Regions from separate parts of the Homo sapiens genome. Here all the other regions are linked to region 2. Evidence: promoter capture Hi-C in 16 types of primary human blood cells and fetal thymus (Javierre and others, 2016). All regions are on one chromosome and are shown on one strand. The core of a region is centred on a gene start or on the middle of the fragment in contact, and the rest is flanking DNA. Distances in the headings are between cores, read along the strand shown.

Region 1 (3,954 bases), core at 877-3,376, 250 kb after region 2:
CTGTTTAGACCTATGACCTTAGAACACTGGCCTGACTTGGAGAAAAATGAACTTGAAAAGAATCCTGTGATATATGGAGCACACACCTTTACATATAAAAATTAAACTACTGGCCCATAATCAGTATAGCTCGCCTCATGATAGATTATTCTCAGGCTAAATTTATAACAGGCACTCAACAAAAGTATTCATCGCTTATCCCCTAACATTATCTAGTAGCTATAGGAGCCGGTGACCTAGTAAATAAAAAAAAAAAATCTTTAGGGGTGGAATGTAACTATATGCAGTAGCGGTAATTCTGCTCCATTTGTAAGGAGGGTGAAATGCGATATGGTCATGTACCCTCTTGGTACACAAGTTCCATAGGCTATAGAAAAACAAGTCCATACCCTCTGATATCTGCATTCCTTATTCTTGTTATAGCTTACAAATCTTCTTTAGACACTTAACAGTGATAATTCTCCCAGGGAAACTAAGGAAGCACATGAGTCATGTTTCTTAACTTTAATGTTGTATAATCTGAAAATTATCTATAGATGCTTTTTTTTTCCATTGGTGCTAGAAAATTCCGCCTAGGCTCAATCGATATCCATTTCTAAACTTCTGCAAGAAAGCTTTAACTGCTTTGACATGCCAAAAATCCAGGTGTGAATTAAACAACGAATGCTTTACCTCGTTTTCACCACTAGTTCTACCAGTCAGAATCTTTTCAAATCATCCTCAGCCAGTGCCTGTCATCCACGGCCTGGTAACACACCCTTTCACCTCCTCATACCCCGTGTCTTCGCTTTTCCAGTCCTTTGGCTGCCCTCCGGTTTCTTCCCTCACATACCTGTCTGACTAGTTCCTAGAAGCCTGGCAGAAATTGTTCTCCGATTTTAATCTGGCTGCCACAAATGAAAGACCTTGGAGTCCAAATACTCCTCTCTCAAAGCAAAATCTAAATGGATATAATTTATAAGCAAAGATAACACTTCTGTTTTTTTCTCTATAAACAAACCATGCATGGGCTTTTAAAGGAGAAAAGGAAGAGTGGATTGACAGAGAAAATAACTGTTTAGGATAGAGGTTAGGAAAAGACTGAGAGCAAGAGAAAAGGCATCAATCCCAGTTGTTAATCCACGAGGCATCCCCCAGACCCTTCTGTAAAGGTTAATGAAGGCAGTAAGGCAGTTATCTTTGTTTCGTGCACTGATGCAATCCAAGCTTCCACGGTTTAGCACATAGTAGACGCTCTATAAATATTTATTGAATGTTGAACGATGAGAGAGTAATTAAAAACCGGTAAGTTGATATCATAAATACAACGACAACGGCTCCCCTATCAAATGTTTAGTGTTCCCAGAGACAGCCCCATTGTTCTACATCTCGTTATACTCTGGCCTTTTCCCGTTTTTGTCATTCGAACTCATATACATATTGAAATCGAAGCACACACAAATCCCTGAAATGACAAACTTAAATGCTATCCAAAGGAAGTTACATTAGGTTGCTGCTTTGAAAATGAAGTCAACTCCTAATGGGTTAGCTGTTTCTGCAGCATTCTTTCCCGCCTTCTTGGAGTTGAGGTGAGGGATTAAACAATCAACCTTCTCTCTCCTTTCTCTCATTCTCAAAGTTTTTCTCGCCTTTTCCTTCCTTTCCTTTGCTTCATTTCTTTTCCCAGTCTATCGTTTCTCTAGGGGTCGTTGCTTTGCTCTTTCTCCCTCTCTGTCTGTTGGTCCCTTTGATCCTTTCTTTCTACCCCTTATTCCCAGCAGCTCCAGAAAATACCTTCTTTCTCCCCGTCTCACGTCACTTCCCTCCCTTCTCCCATCTCCCTCTCCTCTCCGAGAGGTGCGTTCCCCACTAGAGGCCAGCACTTTCTTAGTTTCGTCCTTCCAACCGGCGAGCAGAACTCGGAGAGAAAGAAGGGGGTAAAAAAGAGGAGAAAGAGAGCAAGAGAGGAAAAAACCCCTGGGCCTGGAGCGCAGAGGCCCGGGAGCTGCGTCGCCATGGCAACGGGCGCCGGCAGGAAACGAGGGACGCGCGGGAGGGAGGGGGCGGAGGGCGCCGAGGGGAGGCGGAGGGACGGCGGGGGGGGGGTCCGGCTGCCCCGGAAGCACCTCCCCGCAGCCCCCTCCTCCAGCCCGGCCCGCAGCCCCTGGCCTGCGGCCCCCACCTTCTCGGCCGGGCAGGAAGTGACAGGCCCGGAGCGAGCCCCGGAGGCCTGGCTGAGCCGCGGCCGGGCCCGCACCCGGAGCGGCGGGAGGGGCGGGGAGCCGCGGTCGCGCCGGGCGCCTCCCACCCCGCCCTCGGCGCCCCCGCCCCTCCAGGAAGGGGAGGAGGCGAGGGGAGCCCGCCGCGGAGGCCGAGCGAGCCCCCAGCCCAGCCTGGCGACTGGGGACCCCGGCACATGAGGTGGACGCCCCCGGGGAAGACTTGGGTGCACAGCCAGGCGAGAAGGTAACCGGGCGACCGAGGGCCGGGGAGGGGCAGGACCTCTGGGGGCTTGGCTGCGCGGGGATGTATCCTCAGCCACCTCCATCTGTGTAACGCCCCAGGTACCTCCCCCAGTTGCTTTCCCTGCCTACCTCCGGCGCTGAGCTCTGCGGTCCTTCGGCTCTGCCTGTCCGAGTCTTCTGGCTATTCATTCTGCTGCGCTTCATGCTGTCTGTCCGTCACCCTAGCTGCCTCTGACTGCTCATTTTCTTATTCATTTTTCCTTCTCTGACTTTGGTCCTTCCAGCCGAGCATGCTGTCTAGTTATCTCCCTGCTTTCGTGGTCCGCTGGGTTCCTCAGCCTCCAGTTCCTTGACTTCTGCCTCTGCTCTCTGTATGCACATGTCCCAGCTCACTTGGGTCAGTTCATTCCCGGCGCACCACTGGATCCACCCCCTTCCCCCAGTGTATTTGATTTCTCTTTGAAACATCATTTTCATCAAGGTTCTATATAGAACGAGGACCCTTGGGCGTCTACTCCCTGTTCTCTTGATTATTACCGTGTCTTTGGCACAGTCTTCCCTGAACCACCCCCTTCTCCCGTCCCCCTTCCTATGTCCCATCCTTTCTGCATGATAAGAGTTTCGTGCTTAGGGATATTGACTTTCTCCAACTCTCGGCCCAATGCTAAGTCCACCTCAATGTCCCATTCTAACTCCCTTCGGTAGGTCTGTGCGCCTACCCAACCCCATGTATGCCCACATGCTACCTTTTAAGATGACCATGGCTTAGCTACTCTGGGGGCATCTGTGGATCAGCTTCTCACTGTCTTCCAGTTTAATTTGGAAAATTTTGATACCTGGTGCTGCCCAAACTGTTTGTTGTCTCCATTTTTTATATTTAATCTTGTAGTCATAATGTTGATCACAAATGAATACATTTATGTGCCCGGGATCCAGGAATCCTGGTTTTGGTGGCAGTTTCCCTTGATTTTATTGAGACTTTTAAGTTGGTCCCTTTACATTTTTATTTCTAGTTCACAATCCAAAAAAAATTATTAATCAGAATTCAGGTTTGGGAAGACGAGGGGTCATACGGTTTGTATTTTCACATGTGAATGTAGGAATTATGTTCTCTATACCTAGCAAAGGGGTCTCGTGTCTCTGAGTCCAGTGAACTAAATCCAGTAATCTATAAAACTGTGCCGTGCTGCCTCTAATCCTTACCCACTTTTTTTCTTCACATGCTGATAATGAGGATTCATGGGTCTGTATCTGTTTAGTGCTTTGATATTTTGGCAAAAGATGTGGGGAGAAGGTAGACTAGTTGAAGCTGATATGATTTTTCCTATGTACTTTTTGGGTAATATACATGTTTGCAGTGACATTTGCTAGTCCTAAATGAAACTAAAGACTGGGGGGGGATAATAGTGTGATTGGATGATACTGGGAATGAGATAATAAGAAATATCCTCAGCTTTATTGCCAAGGCCAAGCAGTTTGATACTTTGCTTGTTTGTTTGTTTTGGATGCA
Region 2 (3,899 bases), core at 121-2,620:
GAGTATACCTGCATGCATGATGGTAATAGTGTATGTATTCCCACTGTTCTTCTTCAAGATTTACATTTGGTCCAGTTTCTTTTTTTCTTTTTTCCTTTTTTTTTTTAATGGAGATGAGGTTAACTCATCTCACTATGTTGCCCAGGTTGGTCTCAGTGATCCTCTCCACTCAGTCTCCCAAAGTGCTAGGAGTATAGGTGTGAGCCCACCATGCCCAGCCCAGGTCCAGTTTCTTTCTAGGTAGTCCCTCCTCTATGTTTGTGTATGCATTTGTATATCAGCTTCTTTTTTGCTTTGCAATTTGTTTACTCATATGTGACCCTCTTTGGGTGGTTAATATGCATTTGTGTGTATCTTAGTTGCACCTTAGTTTCATAATTCTTGGGAGGCCTTTCCCCTAGTCTGAAGTCTAGTCACATTCCTGAACTTTTTTTCTTAACACAAAATCTGTTCTTCTAATAGGAATTCCAGAGCTCAATACCAAGCATCTCTACTGCTATTCCTCTTCGACCTCATTCCATCCCATCTCCTGCCACACACGTGTATAGCTGAGGAGCTGAGGGTTTAGGGAGCAAAGAATAAAGGACTCACCAGAGGTGATGATGAATGCAGCAAGAAACAGCAGCACCTTGGGTCCCAAGAGCGACATATCTATAGGGGTGGTGGGCATAGCAGAGAATGTGATGCTCAGAGGCACATCAGCATTTCAGTGCCAGGGAAAGATGCCTCTGAGGTCCCTGTCTCTTTGTCTTCCCAGAACTTTCTTCATTTTCCCTTATGACTCAAACCCTTTCTCTCTTTTCTTACCTTTCACCCAACATTCATTTCTCCCTCAAATCTATTCCTTGGTCACTTACCATTATTCTTGCTTTTATTATTCTCTGCTACCAAGTCAGAGGAAATTTTACATTCTACATGGTCCGTACTTGGCCCTACCCTTTGGCCTCTTTCACCCCTGATGTGGAATCTTCCTTTCTCATATGCGTGACTTTTTCATATCATCTGCTCATCTTGGCGTCTCCTTCATCAGAATTCCACGGTTATTTGGGAGGTCTGCTCAAGACTAAGTTCAGTGACATTCCCCATTGCCCCCTCCAGCCCTTTCACACACACACAGACATACACACATTCCCTCTGTCTCTTTAGGGTTTCAGGTAATCAAATAACTCACTGTCTATGGTGTTCTGCTCTTTCCACCGAGTCCTTTGGCTGCTGAATGTGTCTCTCTCCTCTTACGCTGTTCCTACTTTGGCTGGCGAATAAGATGAACAGAGCCACTCCCTGGAAAGGACTTCAGATTTGGCCTCCGCTGAAACAATGAGATGAGGGAGAGCAAGAAAGCCAGGCTAGGCGTAGAATGTGTGTTACAATGAGGCTGGAATGAGAAGGGAGATGGGAATTTGCAGTTGCTCACACCCTCATTCCAAATGTTATGACTACACTGGTGAGAGCTCTTGCTGCTCCCTGGAAGTGTTGGCCCCAGCTCATGTATTGCCTTTCTTCCATTAGCCTATTTTCCCTCCTCTCACGATCTGGTCCCAGCTCCCCTTTGTTCCTTGGGTTCTTTCTTACCGAAAAGTTCCGTCTCCTCCTTGGTGTGTTTTAATGCACATTATAGATGCTGTTTCTCTCTCTCTGGCTATCTTCTTCTTCTTTGTTTTTTGTTTTTTTTTTTTAAGACAGAGTTTTGCTCCTGTCACCCAGGCTGGAGTGCAATGATGTGATCTTGGCTCACTGCAACCTCCGCCTCCTGAGTTCAAGCAATTATCCTGCCTCAGCCTCCTTATATTCCATATTTGAATCATTCCTTCATCCTTCTTTCTCACTTTCTTTTTCAATATTCGTCTCTTCAGCACTAACAAATTTCTTTTTATTCCTGTATTTCTTTTTCATCTCTGCCTCTTTCTTGACCTACACATTTAGACTCTTCTTGTTTTTTTTCCCCTTGGAATATCCTATGTATTCTCACAACCAAGCGAACACAGATACCTTATGAGTTTTGTCCAAGAGGAAGGCTGGCTACCTTAGGGTTATAAAAAGTTGAGGAACTTTTCAGAACTCTCCAAATCATTTTCAAATGTAGAGAAGCTCTGTGAAAGGGGTGCCAGCCTTACTTTGTCTTTTGGCTTTGTTTGAGCTTAACTAAGAATCTGGGTTTCTGGGCTCTTAAGGATAAAATGCAATCAGATGCCCAAAGAAAATTGAAAGGCAAGGTTATTATGCTTGCCTCATTTTCTACCAATATTTTTCCTTAGATCATATAATGTGTAGATAACACTTTCTCTGATCCAGGATTTTTTCTTTTTTTTAAGATAGGGTCTTGCTCTGTCACCCAGGCTGGAGTACAGTGGCATGATCACAGTTCACTGCAGGCTTGACCTGGGCTCAAGTGATCCTCCTGCCTCAGCCTCCTAAGTCGCTGGGACTACAGGTGCATGCCACTATGCCAGGCGAATTTAGATGTATTTTTTTGTAGAGACAGGATTTTGCTATGTTGCTCAGCCTTGATTCAGGAATTTTAAAGGCTTTGTATTTCTTCTTATTCACAGAGACTCTAGTGGTTCAACCACTAAAACATTCCCGCTTTGGATTCAAGAGCAAACTTGAATTACAGAAACTCAAGTCTGAGGAATGGTGGACCTTGTATGCCATAGAAATATGTAAGTTTCAGGTTTCCTGTTGGCTCCCCTTTAGTCTACATTATATATCTCCCTGATGAAATAAATTAGAGAAGAGTACAGGTAGACAGAGAGCAGATAGTATTAATAAATTACATACTAGAAGAAAATAAAAGGGGGTATGATGGAAGGAAGGAAAGAAGGAAAGAAGGAAGGAAGGAGTCTAGTTGAGAGGAAAAAAGAGCAGTGGACACAGAAATAAGCAAATCGCACTTTGTAAGCACCTCTGGGACCTCCGAGGGAGCTGTAAGTGCTACATCTCTAAGATACATGGAATCTGGTCAGTCCGCAGAACAAGCTGAGTGCTACGCCCAGCTCTTCCTGATCTTCCTGCCCCAGAACTTGCTCTTCTTCCATCTGCTCCCCAGTGAAGGGGCTGAGACTAGAAAACAGATGTGATTCTAGTCTGAGGAGAGTCAGGGGAAGAAAAGGGTGTTGGGAGAAGAAACAAAAAAGCAGATGCAAAGCAGGACATAGCTAAGGCAGGACATAGAATAGAGAGCCTAGAGCAACAATCAAGTTTTCCATGAAGCTCAGACAGATGGAGACACTGAACTCAGGCCAGTCATTTGGCAGGGAGAGCAATGACCTCAATGTGCTGGCCTGGCTAGAGGCTATAGTTTAGGAGAGCCTCCCCAGGCAGTGGGAGGGGGCGTTCTCCTGGGGTTGTAGGAGGTAGTCTGGAGTTGGGGCAGTGAAAATAGGAACAGAATGTTCAGAGCAGGGCTGAAGAAGAGAACAGGCAGGGAGTAGCATCCTAGAAGGAAAGGAGAGGTAGTGAGACAGGAACTGGCAGAAGAGCAGGACAACCATATATTGTTGGGTTTTAAAGACTTTTGAGAATGCAGTTTGTTTCAAGGTTGGTTAGTTTCTTTTTTTTTTTTTTTTTTTTTTTGTGAGATAGAGTCTCGCTCTGTTGCCCAAGCTGGAGTGTAGTGGCGTGAACTTGGCTCACTGAAACCTTCGTCTTCTGGGTTCAAGTGATTTTCCTGCCCTAGTAACTGGGATTACAGGCATCCGCCACCAGGCCCGGCTAATTTTTGTATTTTTAGTAGAGAGGGGGTTTCGCCATGTTGGCCTGGCTGGTCTCGAACTCCTAACCTCAAGTGATTTGCTCCCCTCAGCCTCCCAAAGTACTGGGATTACAGGTGTGAGACACCACACCTGGCCAAGGTTGGTTAATTTTTTCATGGCAACTATGGCGGGCCCTTTATTCTACTA
Region 3 (4,119 bases), core at 979-3,478, 160 kb after region 2:
AACAGATTAGCTACAAGATTAGAAATTACAGTTTAGAGGCCGGGTGCAGTGGCTCGCGCCTGTAATCCCAGCACTTTGGGAGGCCAAGGCGGGCGGATCACGAGGTCAGGAGATCGAGACCATCCTGGCTGACACGGTGAAACCCCGTCTCTACTAAAAATACAAAAAATTAGCCGGGCGTGGTGGCGGGCGCCTGTAGTCCCAGCTACTCGGGAGGCTGAGGCAGGAGAATGGCGTGAACCCGGGAGGCGGAGCTTGCAGTGAGCCGAGATCGCGCCATTGCACTTCAGCCTGGGCGGTAGAGCCAGACTCTGTCTCAAAAAAAAAAAAAAAGAAATTACAGTTTAGAGGTCATGCAGCCTCTGGCTCCAAGAGTCTGAACCTCCCCAAATTGCTCCTGGGGATAACATCACTGCTGTAAAACCTAAGATCAGTAATTGAGTTATTTTGCAGGCCCTGCACTCCATGGGATCAGCTGACACCACACAGACCAGTCATCTGGCCCAACCAGTTCTGCCATCTCACCCAGGAACAGAAGACATTAAGAAAATCTAACTTCGACCCTCTATGATTCCATCTCCAACCTGAGCAATCAGCACTCCCCACTTCCCAAGCCCCTACCTGCCAAATTATCTTTAAAAACTCTGATCCACGAAGGCTCAAGGATTTAAGTAATAATAAAACTCCAGTCTCCCACACAGCCGGCTCTGCGTGAATTACTCTTTTGCCATTGCAGTTCCCCTGTCTTGATAAATCGGCTCTGTCTAGGCAGCAAGCAAGGTGAATCCATTGGGTGGTTACAAAACGGGGTCTCACTATGTTGCCCAGGCTGGTCTCAAACTCTTGGGCTCAAGCAATCCTCCAGCTTCTGACTCCCAAAAGCTGGGATTATAGGCATGAGCCACTGCACTTAGACTAATTTATATTTTAGGTGACTTCTAAGTATTACCATCATAAAGAACACTGTGGGCTGGGCACGGTGGCTCATACCTGTAATCCCAGCACTTTGGGAGGCTGAGGTGGTCCCTGGAGCTCAGGAGTTCGAGACTAGCCTGGGCAACATGGTGAAACCCTGTCTCTATTAAAAATACAAAACAATTAGCCAGGAGTGTTGGTGCCTACCTGTGGTCCCAGCTACTCAGGAGGTGGAGGTGGGAGGATCGCTTGAGCCCAGGAGGTCAAAGCTGCAGTGGGCTGAGATTGTGCCACTGCACTCCAGCCTGGGTGATAAAGTGAGACTCTACTTCAAAAAAATAAAAAATAAAGAAAAGAAAAAAAAGAAAGAACAGTGTGAAAAAACTCAGTGTTACACTTGTGCATACATGCATGCTGTCCTTTTTTTCCTCATTAAGAAACATTTCCAGAGTAGGAGTTGCTGAGTGAAAGAATATGCAAATCTCAAAGGCTTTGGTGTGTATTACAAAATTGCCATGAGAAAGTTATCCACATTCTATTTTCTCTAGGACTGTGTGTGTCCCTATTTCCATACAGTCACAACAATACTGAGTAGTATTAATTTTTTTTTTTTTTGAGACAGAGTCTCGTTGTGTCACCCACGCTGGAGTAAAGTGGCATGATCTCGGCTCACTGCAACCTCCACCTCCCGGGTTCAAGCGATTCTCCTGCCTCAGCCTCCCAAGTAGCTGGGACTATAGGCACCCACCACTATGCCCAGCTGATTTTTTTTTCTTTGTATTTTTAGTAGAGACAGGGTTTCACTATGTTGGCCAGGCTGGTCTTGAACTCCTGACCTGGTGATCTGCCCACCTCAACCCCCCAAAGTGCTGGGATTACAGGCGTGAGCCACTGTGACCGGCCAAGTTTACTGCTTTTCTATTGAAACTGTTCTCATACCCGTGTTCCCAACTACACCTTAATTGAATAATAAAAGAAAATAAGGACATTAAATGAGAACAGGAATTGGAATGAGACCAGAAAAAAAGGGAGGAGTTCAAAATATGTTCTGAGAGCTTTACCATTATGAATACTCAGCTCTGGTTTTCCCCCAAAACTGGCTGAACCAGTATGGATGTTCCAGGCAGAAACAACTTTAAAGAAGTGAATAGTGGCCCTACCCTGGTCCACCACCTAACCTGGTGGTTACAGAAGGAGGAACACAGTCCTCCTGTGTTCCAGGTGCCAGGAGGTGACTGACTATAGCATCAGTCATCACTGCACACCCTACCTGGAATTAGTATATAAAGCTACGCGGAGCGATCTCTGCCCCTGACCCTGGAAAAATCTGTCTCACCCACAAAGATGTGGGCTCAGCTCCTTCTAGGAATGTTGGCCCTATCACCAGCCATTGCAGAAGAACTTCCGTGAGTGCTTGGTGTCAGAATTGGTTTATTAGGGCAGCGGCTTCTTCGCCTAACTTTCTCAAACATTTATATGGAGATGGGGAGATCAACTTTGGTTTATCTTAATTTCCTCCTCCTTTTTTCTCTTCTTTGGTTCCACTGATCCTTTACCCAGAGAGGGAGGCTGACGCATGAAGAGGAAGCTTTAAAAAAGATAAATATTAAAATGTGCCCTGTTTTCTGAAATAGGCCTAATTTCCTCCTTGGTGCTCTAGGCATGTGTGCTCGGTGAGGGCCTCCTGATGGCGGAAGTTGAAGACTGTGCACTGAGTCGTTGCCCCTCTGCTTCTTGTAGAAAATGAGGTGCATAAGGAAGGCAGGGGCTTGGTCTGTCTAATTCACTGCTACTTGCTGAGCGCTTAGGAGAGTGCTGGATTTTTCGAGTGAATGAATCATTATTGCCCTGAAATCCTTCTGCTCCTTTAATAGAAACTACCTGGTGACATTACCAGCCCGGCTAAATTTCCCCTCCGTTCAGAAGGTTTGTTTGGACCTGAGCCCTGGGTACAGTGATGTTAAATTCACGGTTACTCTGGAGACCAAGGACAAGACCCAGAAGTTGCTAGAATACTCTGGACTGAAGAAGAGGCACTTACATTGTATCTCCTTTCTTGTAAGCACAGACTCAGCCCTCACTCGAATCCCTTACTTGCCTATTCTCCTCCCTAGGCTCACTATAATCTACTTTAAGTATAATTTCTGTTATCTTTTGCCACGGCCTCTAAACCTATTTTTTCTCAACTTAACCTCAATCCCCGGCTATAACTCACCCACGGTTTCCTCGACCTAGGATTTCTCCCTTTAGTTCCTGACCTTAATTCTTCCTCGTGGTAATTTGTTTTATGTCTCTATCCTTGCTACCCCCATCTAACTCAGCTCTTTCCTTTAACTCACTGTTGGGTTGAGACCAGTTGATTCTGTTCCCCCAATCCCTTACCCCTCCCCAGAAGTCCCCTTTCTTGGTCAGGTACCACCTCCTGCTGGTGGCACAGAAGAAGTGGCCACAATCCGGGTGTCGGGAGTTGGAAATAACATCAGCTTTGAGGAGAAGAAAAAGGTTCTAATTCAGAGGCAGGGGAACGGCACCTTTGTACAGACTGACAAACCTCTCTACACCCCAGGGCAGCAAGGTAAGAGTCACATATTTGGGGTTCGACTAAAACCTGGGGAAACCGCTGTGCACAGGGGTAAAGAGGGGATTTGTGGTTTGACAGTAGGCTTTGGAAAAAAAGGAGTGCAGAGGAGAGGAAAATCTGGGGGGATTAAGTAGTGCAAGTGTTGAATACATGCTGCGCTACACAAGCAAGAGAAGTAGGTGGGGGTTGCTACTGAGTTTGTGTATCTAAAACAAAAGTACACATTTCTTCTGGAATAGAATTTGGCAAGTATAACTGGGTTGCTGGGCCTTACAACAAACTGCTTGTAAATGGCTAAGAAAGCACTGAGGGCATTTGGCTTGAGCTACTGGGGTTTTTTTTTTTTTTTTTTTTTTTTTTTGTATTTGTTCATTCGTCCTTACAGGGGCACTTCATTCTGAGATTTCAAAGTCAGGCACCCTGAAAAGAAACTATGTTTGGGTTTTTTTTATTTTTTTATTTAAAATTTTTGTGGGTACATAGCTGGTGTATATATATTTATGGGGTAGATGAGATATTTTTATACACACACACAATGTGTAATCATTACATCAGGGTACATGTGTATCCATCACCTCAAGCATTTATCATTTCCTTGTATTACAAACAATCCAATTATACTC
Region 4 (3,987 bases), core at 1,200-3,699, 230 kb after region 2:
TAGCTGAATGACTTTGGGCAATTTATTTAGCCTAACTATACCTCAGTTTCCTCCTTGGTAAAATGGGAGTGATAATACCTCAAAGAGTGGTAGTGAAGATAAAATTATCTACGTAAAGTACTTAAAACTGATAGGGAGGAAGGGAGGGATTGCAAATTAGCACAAGAAAGCTTTGGGGGTGATATGTTCCATTATCTTGATTATGGTGATAGTTTCATGGTTGAATACATGTTAATATTCATCAGATTGTACACTAAATATGTGCTGTTATTGTATACCAATTTTACCTTAGGAATGCTGTATTAAACCTGGGCACAGTGGCTCACGCCTGTAATCCCAGCACTTTGGGAGGCTGATGCAGGTGGATCACTTTGAGCTCAGGAGTTCGAGACCAGTCTGGCCAACATGATGAAACCCCATCTCTACTAAAAATATAAAAATTAGCCTGGAGTGGTGGTGCACACCTGTAATCTCAGCTACTTGGGAGGCAGGAGATTTGCTTGAACCTGGGAGGCGGGGGTTGCAGTGAGCTGAGATCACGCCACTGCACTCCAGCCTAGGTAAAAAAGCAAGACTCCGTCTCAAAAAAAAAAAAAAAAGAAAAGAAAAAAAGAAGAATGCTGTTTTAAAATCTTTCATTTTTTATTTTTAAAAAATAGGGACAGGGTTTCACCGTGTTGCCCAGGCTTTTCTCAAACTCCTAGACTTAAGCTGTCCACTGGCTGCAGCCTTCCAAAGTCCTCGGATTACAGGCTTGAGACTCTGTGCCCGGCCTGTTTTAAAAATCTTAATTGGCATTTAATATATATTCAATAAATATTAGCTATTATTGTGAAGAGAGATTCTGGACCTTTCTTGCCAGGAGGTAAAATTTCCACTCTCAATGTAGGCCCCTGTTGTTTCACTGGGACCTTTCTCCCCTCTCTACAGCTTTCCCCTTCCCCAGCCCCAGGAAAGGTGGAGGCGCCACCTTCTGGTCAGAAAGGAGATTACACAATGGTGTCCTGCTTTTAAACTTTTTGTTTTGTTTTAGCATTTATTTTCGAATAGACAATACACGCCCACGTAAAAATTCAAAGGTCCTAAGAGACACCTTCCACATTTCTTCTCTCAGTTCCCTCCTCGGATGTAACCTATACTATTACTTTTGCCAAATGTCAGCGCCCTGAAATACACCACCCGAAATCTCACAGATAGGCAAAGCTGGAGTTTATTCATGTCTTAGCAAGGGAGCACACCGCCTTGCGGAAACTTGAGCAGCATCTGGGAGGGGAGGGCAAAGGGAGGATATTTATGAGGTTCTAGGTTGGATTAAGGTGGGTCTTTCAGTGAAGGGCTCTGATTAAGTTTGGGTACGGATCATGATTTAGCAAGGTGAGGGCTTAAAAAAGTTTTGGAGCATGAATAATCATTTGATAACTGTACTGGAAAGCTAAGCAATTTAAAATACGTTGTCTGGATATTCCTGAAATGAACAATAACATTATTTAAAAGTTTTATTTTAAAAAGTTTTTTCAGTTAAAAAAAATTAAAGGCATAAGTATGATACAAAGGACTTTGGGGACTTGGGCGGAAAGGGTGGGAAGGGAGAGAGGAATAAAAAACTACAAATTGGGTTCAGTGTATACTGCTCGGGTGATGGGTGCACCAAAATCTCACAAATCACCACTAAAGAACTTACTCATGTAACCAAATACCACCTGTGCCCCAATAACCTATGGAAATAAAAAGTTTTTAAAAATTTCATTTTGTGAGTGCAGAGTAGGTATATGGGATACATGAGATGTTTTGATACAGGCGTGTGATGTGTAATAATCACATCCGGGTAAATGGGATATCTATGACCTCAAGCATTTATCCTTTGTGTTACAAACAATACAATTAGGCCAGGTACAGTGGCTCACGCCTGTAATCCCAGGACTTTTGGGAGGCTGAAGTGGGTAGATCACTTGAGGTCAGGAGTTGGAGACCAGCCTGGCCAACATGGCAAAACCCCATCTCTGCTGAACATACAAAAAGTAGGCGGGCGTGGTGGCGGGCGCCTGTAATTCCAGCTACTCAGGAGGCTGAGGCAGGAGAATTGCTTGAACCTGGGAGGCAGAGGTTGCAGTGAGCCAAGACTGAGCCACTGCACTCCAGCCTGGGTGACAGAGTGAGACTCTGTTTCAAGAAAAAATAATAATACAATTGTACTTTTAGTTATTTTAAAATGCACACTAAATTATTATTGATTAGAGTCACTCTGTTGTGCTATCAAATACTACATTTTATTCATTCTATTTTTTTGTACCCATTACCCATTCCCATTACAGCTTTTATTTTTGGGGCAAGGGCTTCCTGAAATACTAAAGTCTTGTTGGTAAAGACAGTAGAATAGCAAAGTCAAGCTAATGTAGGCAGTAAAGTGTGTGGGTGGGGCTTGGCTAATTCTCAGTTTCTGGTATATCTTTTCAGAGATATTCTGTGCTTATTCAACTATACATGTATAAATTTCTTTTATTATTATTTTTATCTTTTTATTTTTTTTTGAGACAGAGTCTTGCTCTGTCACCCAGGCTGGAGTGCAGTGGCACGATCTCGGCTCAGTGCAACCTCCGCCTCCCAGGTTCAAGTGATTCTTCTATCTCAGCCTCCCAAGTAGTTGGGATTATAGGCTCCCACCACCAAGCCCAGACAACTTTTTTGTATTTTTAGTAGAGACAGGGTTTCACCATGTTGGCCAGGCTGGTCTCACACTCCTGACCTCAAGTGATCCTCCCCTCTCGGCCTCCCAAAGTGCTGGGATTACAGGTGTGAGCCACCGTGCCCAGCCTATACATGTATAAATTTAAGAAATGTGATATTTTCCCCTTTACCAGTTGTTGCAGAAATCCAGAAACTGAGTATGAGATATTCCTTAAATAATGGCGATCCAACAGCGTTTGCTCTGTGGTGATATGTGATGTACTTTCCCAAAGTACGTATATTTACGTATTTTGTGTTGAATGGAATTACCGTTTGAGGTATTCTAGTGTTTTCCCTCTCAGCAATTTATCTAACAGATTATGGTTTTGGCAAAATCTGTGGGGCACATTTTCTTATTCCTGGTTTCCTCTTTTCCATCACAAAGCAGAGTACAGGGCTGAGTGGCAGGGGACAGAAATAATTATTCCATAAGCACTGAAATCTGAAGGCCAGCAGAGGGGCCTTCATTAAGTGCGAATCTGTTGGGCACCCACTGAGTAGTGAACAGGATGAATGTGACAACCACACTCCCTGCCCTTCCCAGGCTTGCAGCTTAGTGAGGGAGAGCAACACTGCCTGCCCTTCATTAGGGGGATGAATGTGACAAAGCACAGTCAGGTTGTGGGAACCTAACCTAATCTTTGGGCTGAATTAAGAATTCCCAGAAGTGACACTCAAGTTGCAAGATGAAGAATAAGCAGGAATGAGACAGGTGAGGGGTGCGGTGTGGGAGGATTGTTCTTGTAAGGGGAGATAGCCTATGCCTTCTCTGGAACCGAGATTACTTTTCTCCGTGTTTCTGGTTTCTGTGTTCCGCCATTTGTTCTGTACATCTTGTGGTCTGCTTTCCAGATTTTTTTTTTTTTTTTTTTTTTTGAGACGGAGTCTCACTCTGTCCCCCAGTCTGGGGTGCAGGGGCGCAATATCGGCTCACTGCAAGCTCCGCCTCCTGGGTTCACGCCATTCTCCTGCCTCAGCCTCCCAAGTAGCTGGGACTACAGTCACCCGCCACCACGCCCGGCTAATTTTTTGTATTTTTAGTAGAGATGGGGTTTCACCGTGGTCTCGATCTCCTGACCTCATGATCCGCCCGCCTCGGCCTCCCAAAGTGCTGGGATTACAAGCGTGAGCCACTGCGCCCAGCTTTCCAGATATTTTGAATAGGAATGTACACATAGACTTTCCAAGTGAGGAAGTCACCATCCTAAATGCATAAGAATCCATCCTATGACTAAAGTCCCTCATCAGCGAGAGCCTCTCATG

The links. The method cuts DNA at HindIII sites, captures the fragments that hold promoters and counts their contacts. A CHiCAGO score of 5 or more calls a contact.
Region 1: the fragment with the promoter of PHC1 here is called in contact with the fragment with the promoter of MFAP5 in region 2 in 15 of 17 cell types (M1 macrophages, non-activated CD4 T cells, M0 macrophages and 12 more); the score reaches 8.6 in M1 macrophages.
Region 3: a contact is called between the fragment with the promoter of A2ML1 here and the fragment with the promoter of MFAP5 in region 2, in 17 of 17 cell types (endothelial precursors, naive B cells, total B cells and 14 more). The highest score is 21.0, in endothelial precursors.
Region 4: a contact is called between a fragment that was not itself captured here and the fragment with the promoter of MFAP5 in region 2, in 3 of 17 cell types (M1 macrophages, M0 macrophages and monocytes). The highest score is 6.6, in M1 macrophages.

The regions. Positions count from the first base shown.
Region 1 is chr12:8,912,383-8,916,336 of GRCh38, forward strand. It overlaps PHC1 (polyhomeotic homolog 1), which reads left to right and starts at 2,127. Exons shown (of 15, transcript NM_004426.3): 1 at 2,127-2,445. RefSeq lists silencers at 2,009-2,118, 2,169-2,218, 2,289-2,578. The HindIII fragment of the contact is 8,234 bases long and covers 1,205-3,954 here.
Region 2 is chr12:8,661,456-8,665,354 of GRCh38, forward strand. It overlaps MFAP5 (microfibril associated protein 5), which reads right to left and starts at 1,371. Exons shown (of 10, transcript NM_003480.4): 1 at 1,172-1,371; 2 at 592-651. The coding sequence starts at 649. The HindIII fragment of the contact is 12,173 bases long and covers 1-3,899 here.
Region 3 is chr12:8,820,393-8,824,511 of GRCh38, forward strand. It overlaps A2ML1 (alpha-2-macroglobulin like 1), which reads left to right and starts at 2,229. Exons shown (of 36, transcript NM_144670.6): 1 at 2,229-2,321; 2 at 2,790-2,973; 3 at 3,328-3,490. The coding sequence starts at 2,260. All of the region lies in intron 1 of A2ML1-AS1 (A2ML1 antisense RNA 1), which reads right to left. The HindIII fragment of the contact is 3,171 bases long and covers 1-2,501 here.
Region 4 is chr12:8,889,776-8,893,762 of GRCh38, forward strand. No RefSeq gene overlaps it. Among named protein-coding and RNA genes, the nearest start is that of PHC1, 23 kb to the right of the region's middle. The HindIII fragment of the contact is 4,563 bases long and covers 169-3,987 here.